3 separate regions of the Homo sapiens genome follow, and all the other regions are linked to region 2. Evidence: promoter capture Hi-C in 16 types of primary human blood cells and fetal thymus (Javierre and others, 2016). All regions are on one chromosome and are shown on one strand. Each heading gives the region's core, a stretch centred on a gene start or on the middle of the fragment in contact. The rest is flanking DNA. Distances are from core to core; before and after follow the strand shown. Region 1 holds the start of ZBTB2 (zinc finger and BTB domain containing 2). Region 2 holds the start of STXBP5 (syntaxin binding protein 5). Region 3 holds the start of LTV1 (LTV1 ribosome biogenesis factor).

Region 1 (2,700 bases), core at 181-2,680, 4.2 Mb after region 2:
GGAAGCTGGAGGCCGCCGGCTCAACACGCTCCGTACCCGGGACTGGGGCCCGGCCTGCAGCCTCAGCGAGCAGGCGACAAGGGCGGCGCCACAGAGGCCGACGCGTCCCCCGCCCGCCTGAGCGCGCCGCAACAGCCACCTCGTCCCACCCGCCCCGGGGCGGGGCCGGGGGCGCGGCGCCGGGGCCCTCTGGCCCCCTCCGGTCTCGCCGGCCCCGCCCCCTCCCTGTCCCCGTCCCCGAGGGGCTGAGGGGGAGGGAGGGGCGACGCACTCCGGCCGCGTTGCACGCTCGCCGCTTCCCTCAGTCCCGCGTGCGCGCGCGCGCTCGCCCCAAGTCCCGCGGAGTTTAACACAATGCCGACGCCTACGCCGTGCGCAACGCCCCGGCCGGCGCAACAGCCCCGGCGCCGGGGGCGGGGGTGGCCCAGACAGGGAGAGAGGGAGAGGGATGAGCGCGCGCGAGAGCCGGAGACAGCGCGAGACCCGAGGAGGCCGGAAGCGCGCGTGCGCGCCCCCGCCCGCGAGCGGGAGGCGGAGCCGCAGCAGTAGCGGCAGCAGCTGTAGGAGCCGCTGCAGCTGGGAGAAGCGCCAGAGAGGCCGGGCCTGCTCCGGTCGGACCGGATCCCTCCCCTCCCCCTCCCTCCTCCCTCCCCTCCCCCAAACCCACTTCCGCAGCTCGCGGCCTTGCCGCCGAAGCAGCAGCGGCGGCAGCAGCAGGAGGCGGCGGCGAGGCGTCGGAAGGATTACGCACCTGACGGGCCCGCCTCTGAGGGCTCCAGCGCGGGACGCTCACCGGCCGCCGCCGCCCAGGGCGCACTTCGCGGTGGCGGCGGGAAGGGAGGGACCGGCCACGGGGAACCGAACGCGAATCGCCCCCCTCCCCTTCCTCCCTCCCACCCTCCCTCCGATCCGCCGCCCGCCCTCTCGGCTTCCGTCCCCTCCCCCTCCCACAAAACCCCGGATGGAGGCGCCGCCGACTCGCCGCCGCCTGGCTCCGGGGGATGGTTTTGTCAAGCGGCCAGAGCCCCGGCGCCAGGCGCAGCCGCCGCCGCCCCCGCGAGGCGCCCCTGCCCTCGCTTCCCAGAACCGGGTCCCCGAGTGGCCCGGGCCTTCCGCCTGCCTGCACCCGTAGCCCTGGTACGAGGGTCATTCGTCGTCTTTGTTGCCACCGCCTCTGCCGGAACCGTTTGCGAGCTCCGGTGGCCCCCGCCCCCCCACCGCCTTCCCGGACCCTGGGCTGGGGGTGGCACGTGGGCACCGGCCCCGGGAGGCGGAGGCGGTGCGCGCTTACCTGTCGCCGGTGCTGCTGCGGCGGGGGGTGTGGAGGAGGCGCCTCTGGGCAGCCTCGGCCGTGCTGTCCTCCCCGCCGCCGCCGCCTCTGCCTCTCGCTGCTGCTGCTGCTGCTGCCGCCGCGGTCGGTGTCTCCGGCGCGGCGGCGGCGGCGGCGGCGGGGCTTTTCCTGTCCGGTTACGTTAAGGTCACATGACCGAGAGAGCGGAGAGACTAGTGCAAAGAGGCTGCGAGCGGCTCCCGCCGGGGGGGAGAGGCGGCGAGAGAGCAGTGGCGGCAAGAGCCCCCTCCGCCCCCCCCCCAGCCGCTCCCCTCCCCCCGCCCGCCTCCGCCTCCTGCTGCTCTGCCGCCGCCGCCGCCGCCTGCAGCACTCCACTGCCGCTCCCACCCAGGCTCCGCGCTCTGCTCCAGCCAAACTTCTGCAGACCATGTGCAGCCGAGGCGAGGAAACTTCTCTCCACCTATTGGGGCTGGAGGCCTGAGTCACAAGCCCCTTGTTTACATAAAGTGTTTAGGTAGCACAAGTCCTTGAGATGCTCGGGGTAGAGATGGAGAGCCACTGCTCGTATCCTTCTGCCGGCTTCTGCTTGAGATCTCTTGGCCTTTACCCTTGTCCCTTGACTTTTCGTGTTTGTTTTAATCTTTAAGACTTGAAATGGAGTGGCCTTTAGAACCGGGGAGATACTGTAAACCAGCAGTATCTTTGTGTCACCAATGGTAACTGAAAGTCATGCTGAAGTACAGATTCCTGTAGCGTGCACAGAGGCAGAGGTGCTTCCTTTACCTTGCAGATGAGTTGAGCGGCGTAAGATGTTTCTGTTAGGGTTGAATTTCATGGTTATTTCAGCAACGATTTTCGTTTTTGAAGTTTTGGCCCCCCCAAAAATGAAAGTCTGCAACGCATGTTTGTTAAGAGAACAGTTTATTCTCCTGTTAGGTTTTGGTCTTTGAGGTATGGATTCCAGAGTTGGCTATTCTGTTAGATTTAGAGGTGTGGAAAATCTTTTAACGGGGAGATCCTGAAACACGGAAACATGGCAGGGAAGTTAGAATTTCCTGATGGTCATTTTTAACATTTTAAAGTTTACTTTTTGGTTGTTGCCATTTTTCTAGAATCCGTGTCTTTTTTGGGGAAATACAGTCCTTTGAGGACTAGAATTTAATGATTTCTTTACACATCTAGGATTTTTTGAGATTTAGAAAGGATATGGCTTTATTCCTAAGGAAGTGGAGGCAGCAGTTTCTAGGATACTCTGGTTTCAAGGCATGCTAACTTGGTTGTGATGTCTAACCCATTTTGGTTTACACAGTCTGACCACTAGCACAATGCCTGGCACATAGTTTACAAATCATTTAAGGCAAGCTTACCATCTTAAGACAATTTAATACATAGAAGTGTCCCTCCTAAAA
Region 2 (2,914 bases), core at 279-2,778:
TTTCCAACTTGAGCCAGGCATTTGTCTCCAAGCATTCACGCGAGATGGGCAGTGCGGCCTCGGAAAGATCTGAGCAAAAACTTCATCCTATCCCCCTTTCCCCGTTCTAGAGTGAAGCTCCCAGGGCATTACTGAGTGGCTCATCAGCGTCAGGGCAGATTGAAGGTTCTGAAAAATAGTGGCAGCGCGGCGTTTCCTGCCACCCGCGCTCCTCCCCGGCGAGGGGCTGGGTGCGGGGTAGTGTCATCGGCCCGGGCTGACACCGGCCCTGGAACCGTTCCCCGCTGGCAGCCTCTTCCATCCCAGCAGCTAACTGCTAAGACCAGACACGTTCCACCAACAGTAACAGCTGTAGGAAAGAACCCGTTTTTTCCCGTCTAGGTTTCTCTCCTTTTCCTAGTACCTAAGTCCATCATCCTCCTGCCACTGACATATCGTTGTCTAGACGCTCTTTTTCAAAACTCAAATCCAATCAAACAAAAACAACGCCCGTCAATAAAGCAAGAAAAATAATACTGCAGCCAGCGGCCAGGAGCGTGCACCCCATTAACGGCGAGAAAGCATCAACCCCTGCTGTAATGACTGAATTGGAAAGAAAGGTTTCCTGCTGCTTGTTAGTCGTCAACATTTTTACTATGCCAGCTGCAAGAGAAGCAGCTGCATACTCTGGCAACTCGACTGGGGTGGGAGAAATTTAGCCAGCGTCTGGGATTTTCGCAGAAGATAATTTAAGCCCCAGCTTCGCTCGGGCTGGGGGGCTGGGGGCCTGCTGGGCCAGGGTGGGGGAACCGGGCTGCGGCGCGCATGCGCAGGTACCGCAGCCCGGCTCCTGGGAGGCCCTGCTGCCGCCACCGCCGCGGCCCGCGCTGTAACCGCGGCTGCCGCTGCTGCTCCGGGCGGGCGTTGGTGCCGTGTGCCGAGGCGCCCTGTCAGGCGATGGGGAGCGGCTGGGCGGGGAGAGCCGACGGCCGCGGCGGCGCCTGAGGAACGCAGCCGGGCTCGGGAGCGGCGAGGGCGGGCCGGTCCAGCGGCGGAGGAGCGAGGCGGGGCGAGGCAGGCGGCGCGGGGACCCACACCAGGCGCCTTGTGTGCGAGGCCGAGCGGCGGCCGCGGACAGAGAGCCGGCGACCCCCGGCAGGAGGAGAAGGAGCCGGAGGACGCGCCGAGGGACTGCGGGGCCGGGGCGGGCGAGCAGCGGCGCGGCCGCGGGCCATGGACGCAGCGGCGACGGTGGCGGCGCCGGGGGCGAGCCGGGGCGGCGGCGCGGCGCAGAGTCCGCCCGCGGCCAGGTGAGGCTGGGCTGAGCGGGCTCGGGCGCCGCCGCCACTGCTGCTGCTGCTGCTGCCGGGCCGCGGAGCGAGGCGGCGGCGGCGGCGGCTGAATCGGCACCACAGCAGCCGCGCCAAGCAGCGGCGGCCTCGGAGGAAGAGGGGTCGCCGCCCAGGTTTCTTGCGGCCGCCGCTCTTGTCGTCGCAGTATTTCCTGTTCGGATTATCTTTTGCTTCCCCCCAGCTGCCTCCTTACCCTCACACTCCCACTCCTCCGTTTCCGCGGTCGAAGCTGCCTTCGGCCCCGGGTGGTCTCCCCCGCCCGGGGACCCCCTGTGCCTCCCCTCCCGGGCTGCGGGGGAGCCCCTCCGAGACCATGAGGAAATTCAACATCAGGAAGGTGCTGGACGGCCTGACCGCCGGCTCGTCCTCGGCGTCGCAGCAGCAACAGCAGCAGCATCCGCCTGGGAACCGGGAGCCGGAGATCCAGGAAACGCTCCAGTCCGAGCACTTTCAGCTCTGCAAGGTGAACGGAGCGCGCAGCCCCGCGACACCGTCATTGAAAAATTGGGGTTGTTTTAAGGGGGCTACTCGGGCTTTACATGGGAATGCAAGGGAAGAGAACGCCAATAATAATAATAATAACTCTAATAAAAGGCTCGCTCCTCCCTTGGCAAACGTTTCTTCGGTGGGTTGTTTTGGAGATTGATACCTTACTCCTTTTCATTGATTTTTCTCTCTCCCCTTTGCACATGCAGCAATCAGTTCAAGGTTGCTTCAAACTATTATCCGACCTTTAATCGTATTCTGACACTGCCAGTAATAACCTGGAAGCTTTTATATTCAAGCGTTTTAATATGATTCACCAACTTCGAAGTTTCCTTTGGAAACGGTGTCTAATGAATGTTGTTTATCAAAAAGCCAAACCTGTTCTACCACACCTTTGCTCATCACTTTTCCCTTAAAATGTGGTGTAAGTGGCTTACGATATGAAATCACAGGGTTCTTTTTATCATTATGTTTGTTAAAAAGTACTGAGATTTTTGCCTGTTAATGGCACGATAATTGCCATAGCGTTCTGTAATTCAGAAAGAATGATGCAGCGAATTAAGTCACCAGCTGCTTAATGAGAAACACAAACTTGCCTCGGTTTTAATACCTGCCTTTCTCATAAATAGCCATGTATTTGTATGTCAGAGTTAATTAAAAGTGTGCATATATATATATATATATATATATATAGGTCTAATGCCCTAAAATGATTATGGCCTTAATAGTAAATTGCAAAAATGTATGTTGTACTCATCTTCATTCTGTTACAAGTGTAAAATGTTGGGATAGAGGTTTGATTATTGCTCTACTGAATGCTTGACTAAAGTAATTATATGACAGCTTTTCCTTAGAAGTACTTGCGTTAGCATCCAAATAAAGTAATGATGAAATGAATACTGCCAAAATAAAGTATGAATTGCATTTAATGGGTTTACAGAATTTTGGACCATTGCAAACTTTAGTCATCTGGTGTCGGATGTAGTAGTATAGAATATTAATAAAAGATTTTCTTCTATGGAATACCAGTATTATGGAAAAGCGAAATTAAAGTATATCACTGGACTAGATTTTTGTTTGTTTCAGGTTCTATGTGA
Region 3 (3,026 bases), core at 508-3,007, 3.4 Mb before region 2:
GTCTGTTACGCACAAAACGGAGGGCAGCAACAGGCTGATATCAGTGGTGGAGTCTTTTGAAAGGGATGGTTTCTATTTATCCCTTAGGGAAGAAAGCCTGATCCTGGTTAGTGAGGGAGGGGATATAACAAGGCAAAGCAAGAACTCAGTTTTCAAGGTTACTCTGGGTCCCCTTGGCCAAAAGGGAGTCCGTTCAGTCAGCTGGGGGGCTTAGTACTTAGTTTGTATTTCTCTTGCCTCATTTTTAGGATTTGTAAGATGCTGAAGATAATTGCGTCTCTTTCATAGTGTTGCAGTGAGGATGAAATGAGATGATTCAGATAAAGTGCCAGAACATTAATTCATTTAAATAAATACTTACTGAGCATATATGCCCCATGCATCAGGCCCCTGATGATACAGCAGTAAGTACAACTGATTGAAAGGAAATGAAAACTGCCCCCTTGGATCTTTTAATTCTATATAATGAATAATAACAACGAATCTCTGGCACATAGGAGTGCTATGTATTATCTCTGTTACAAAGCAATATCCTAAGACAAGTTTTATGGTCCTAACCTAAATTATTTCTATATATATATATTTTTGAGACAGAGTTTCGCTCTTGTCGCCCAGGCTGGAGTGCAATGGCATGATCTCAGCTCACTGCAACCTCTGCCTCCCGGGTTCAAGCTATTCTCCTGCCTCAACCTCCCAAGTAGTTGGGATTACAGGCACCTGCCATCACACCTGGCTAAGTTTTGTATTTTTAGTAGAGACGGGGTTTCACCACGTTGGCTAGTCTGGTCTTGAACTCCTGACCTCAGGTGATCCACCCGCTTCGGCCTCCCAAAGTGCTGGGATGACAGACATGAGCCACCGCGCCTGGCCTATTTCTATAATTTTTACTGTAATAAAAGAATAATACTCCACAAATACTTACAGTGATAATGCCTACGGCATAAAGACACAATCCAGGGTAAGCCATTCATTGAGAGGTCACCAGAAACTGGGAAGTTGGGGAAACAAATTTGAAAAAAAGGTCTGCTGATGAAAGTGACTGCATTTACCACACACTTTCGTCCAAGAAAAGCTATGTGAGTACGCCAACGCCGGCCTGAAATCTTCCTAAGAATGCGTGCTTATAGCCTATTTGTTTAAACAGGGGGAGAAAGTTAACATTCAAACACCAGAGATTCTGAATATATTTTATTAGTTCAAATGCCTCTACAGTTAACAGAGTCTCGGGGGTTTGGTTAACAGGGCAGATGAAAGCAGTTCATGAAACAGTGGAAAATATAACCTGATCAAGTCTGATGCAGTCTATAAAGGCAAGGCCCCAGCCTCCGTTGCTACGGCAACCGACTCCGCCCCCACCCGGAGAGGGAACCTGAAACTTGGCGACCCCAGCACCCCAGCGGGGTGGTCGCCTCCCTTCCGTGTCCGCGGCTTTGTTTTTTATGGTTGGGAATAGGTAAGGGACACAAGTCAAGGGGGATGCTAGATTCGTCCCCTCTGGTCTCCGTAGAGGGAGCTATAAAAGGTTCGTCCACAAGCAGAAACCCCTCTGTGGCGCCTCAACGTTAAGGACCCCCACGATTCCCTTTGCCCGGCGGGAGACTAAAGGCCGGAAAAGTACAGCCCGCCCAGGGGTGGGAGCCGAGCTAGCCCCACCTCCCGGTGGCTTCTCGCGATCGTGGAGACGCAGCGAGCCTATGTAACTTCCGGTCGCGACCCATCAGCTCCTCGGCGATTGGTCCGTTTCCACGGCCGGCTGGGTGACGTTATCGCCGGGTCCTGGGGCTGCACGTGTGGTGAGGCCTACAGAAGCGGCCTTCAGCTGGACCTTGGTCTCCCCGCCGGACTTCGAGGGTGTCATCGCCGCCCCTGTTGGGGGTGAGCGCCGCGCGGCTGCAGCATGGTGAGCAAGCCTTGCTTGTTTCGGCGGCCGAGCGCTGTGGTTTTGCAGAGGCCAGGCTGCTTCCGGTAATACCTTGGCTACTGCGGCCCGGGTCTGGGTCATGCCAGAGGCTGCTTGCGGCACGGTACCCCGAAATGGGCCAACGTCACCACCGTGGGCATTCTTTGCAAGTTACAGTCTCCCACCGCCGAGCCTCCCTGGGATGTGGCCCGGAGAGGAGAATGGCCTTTTTGTTTTATCCCTGGGAGCCTGCAGCCCTGCGTGATTTCGGTTAACTAAAAGCTGGTGACTGCCGACACAAACGCGCAACCCTGTGCTTCTTGGGGTCGAGCAGAGGGAGCTGCTGGTCTCCCTCAGCGTTGGAGTGGCAGGTGTCTGCCTGTCTGTTTCCTCTGAGAAAGGGAACTTGTGGGAGAGCATAAGGTTGGGCCCAAAGTAAAGCCACTTAATTGGTTTCCCAGTTTAGAGAATCAAAATTGAATAGCGAAGTAAGAATGTAGAAAGAGGTGATGGATCTTATTAAACTTTAGCTGTTTGTGTCGTGATTTTATTTACTGGTTGGTAGATGCTCTGTGTGGAGCTGTCTACTCCAGATTATGTTGTGGCAGGCTTCTTGTCATTCTAGTTCAGTCGGCCAGGGGCCTTCCCTGAGCAGCCAGTGTAAAGTAGCTTTTAAGGCATTTTCACGTCACTGTCTTATATTTTCTTCACCGGAAATTATCTTGATTTTCTTGCTAAGAACAGGGACTTTATCTGACTTTCCCACTTCTGTATTCTCAGTTCCCATAACAAGGTCTGGCACAAAGTAGGTGCTCAAGGAATGTTTGTTGAAGGAAGGTTAAGTATGGATTCTGCAGAACACAGCTGATGTTGCCTGCCCTAGAAGTGTAGATTTTTAAAAAGTATCTTTAACATGACTACTAAAGATGCATGTGTGGACTATGGAATTATTCTCCGTCTTTTTGTTCTGTTTTAATTAATTGTTGTGATTTTGTTCCTTTGAAGCCTCACAGGAAGAAAAAGCCCTTTATAGAGAAGAAGAAAGCTGTGTCTTTTCACTTGGTCCACCGGAGCCAACGAGATCCTTTAGCAGCAGATGAGAGTGCACCCCAGAGGGTTCTATTGC

Evidence for each region. Contacts are between HindIII fragments. The CHiCAGO score rates a contact against its expected background, and 5 or more counts as called.
Region 1: a contact is called between the fragment with the promoter of ZBTB2 here and the fragment with the promoter of STXBP5 in region 2, in 2 of 17 cell types (total B cells and naive CD8 T cells). The highest score is 7.5, in total B cells.
Region 3: a contact is called between the fragment with the promoter of LTV1 here and the fragment with the promoter of STXBP5 in region 2, in 1 of 17 cell types (total B cells). The highest score is 6.8, in total B cells.

What each region holds. Positions count from the first base shown.
Region 1 is chr6:151,390,129-151,392,828 of GRCh38, forward strand. ZBTB2 (zinc finger and BTB domain containing 2) reads right to left here and starts at 1,431. Exons shown (of 3, transcript NM_020861.3): 1 at 1,292-1,431. It overlaps LOC124901232 (translation initiation factor IF-2-like), which reads left to right. Exons shown (of 3, transcript XM_047419613.1): 2 at 1-344; 3 at 577-2,700. The coding sequence ends at 1,476. RefSeq lists silencers at 1-922, 1,003-1,392, 1,403-1,462 and an enhancer at 1,444-2,316. The HindIII fragment of the contact is 3,903 bases long and covers 1-2,651 here.
Region 2 is chr6:147,202,889-147,205,802 of GRCh38, forward strand. It overlaps STXBP5 (syntaxin binding protein 5), which reads left to right and starts at 1,529. Exons shown (of 28, transcript NM_001127715.4): 1 at 1,529-1,794. The coding sequence starts at 1,645. STXBP5-AS1 (STXBP5 antisense RNA 1) reads right to left here and starts at 1,726. Exons shown (of 11, transcript NR_034115.1): 1 at 1,525-1,726. It overlaps LOC124901422 (a long non-coding RNA gene), which reads right to left and starts at 683. Exons shown (of 2, transcript XR_007059803.1): 1 at 1-683. RefSeq lists silencers at 712-1,131, 1,162-1,211, 1,232-1,311, 1,482-1,671. The HindIII fragment of the contact is 4,433 bases long and covers 1-2,100 here.
Region 3 is chr6:143,841,581-143,844,606 of GRCh38, forward strand. LTV1 (LTV1 ribosome biogenesis factor) reads left to right here and starts at 1,758. Exons shown (of 11, transcript NM_032860.5): 1 at 1,758-1,900; 2 at 2,906-3,026. The coding sequence starts at 1,898. RefSeq lists enhancers at 1,562-1,611, 1,792-2,001, 2,192-2,261. The HindIII fragment of the contact is 13,446 bases long and covers 1-3,026 here.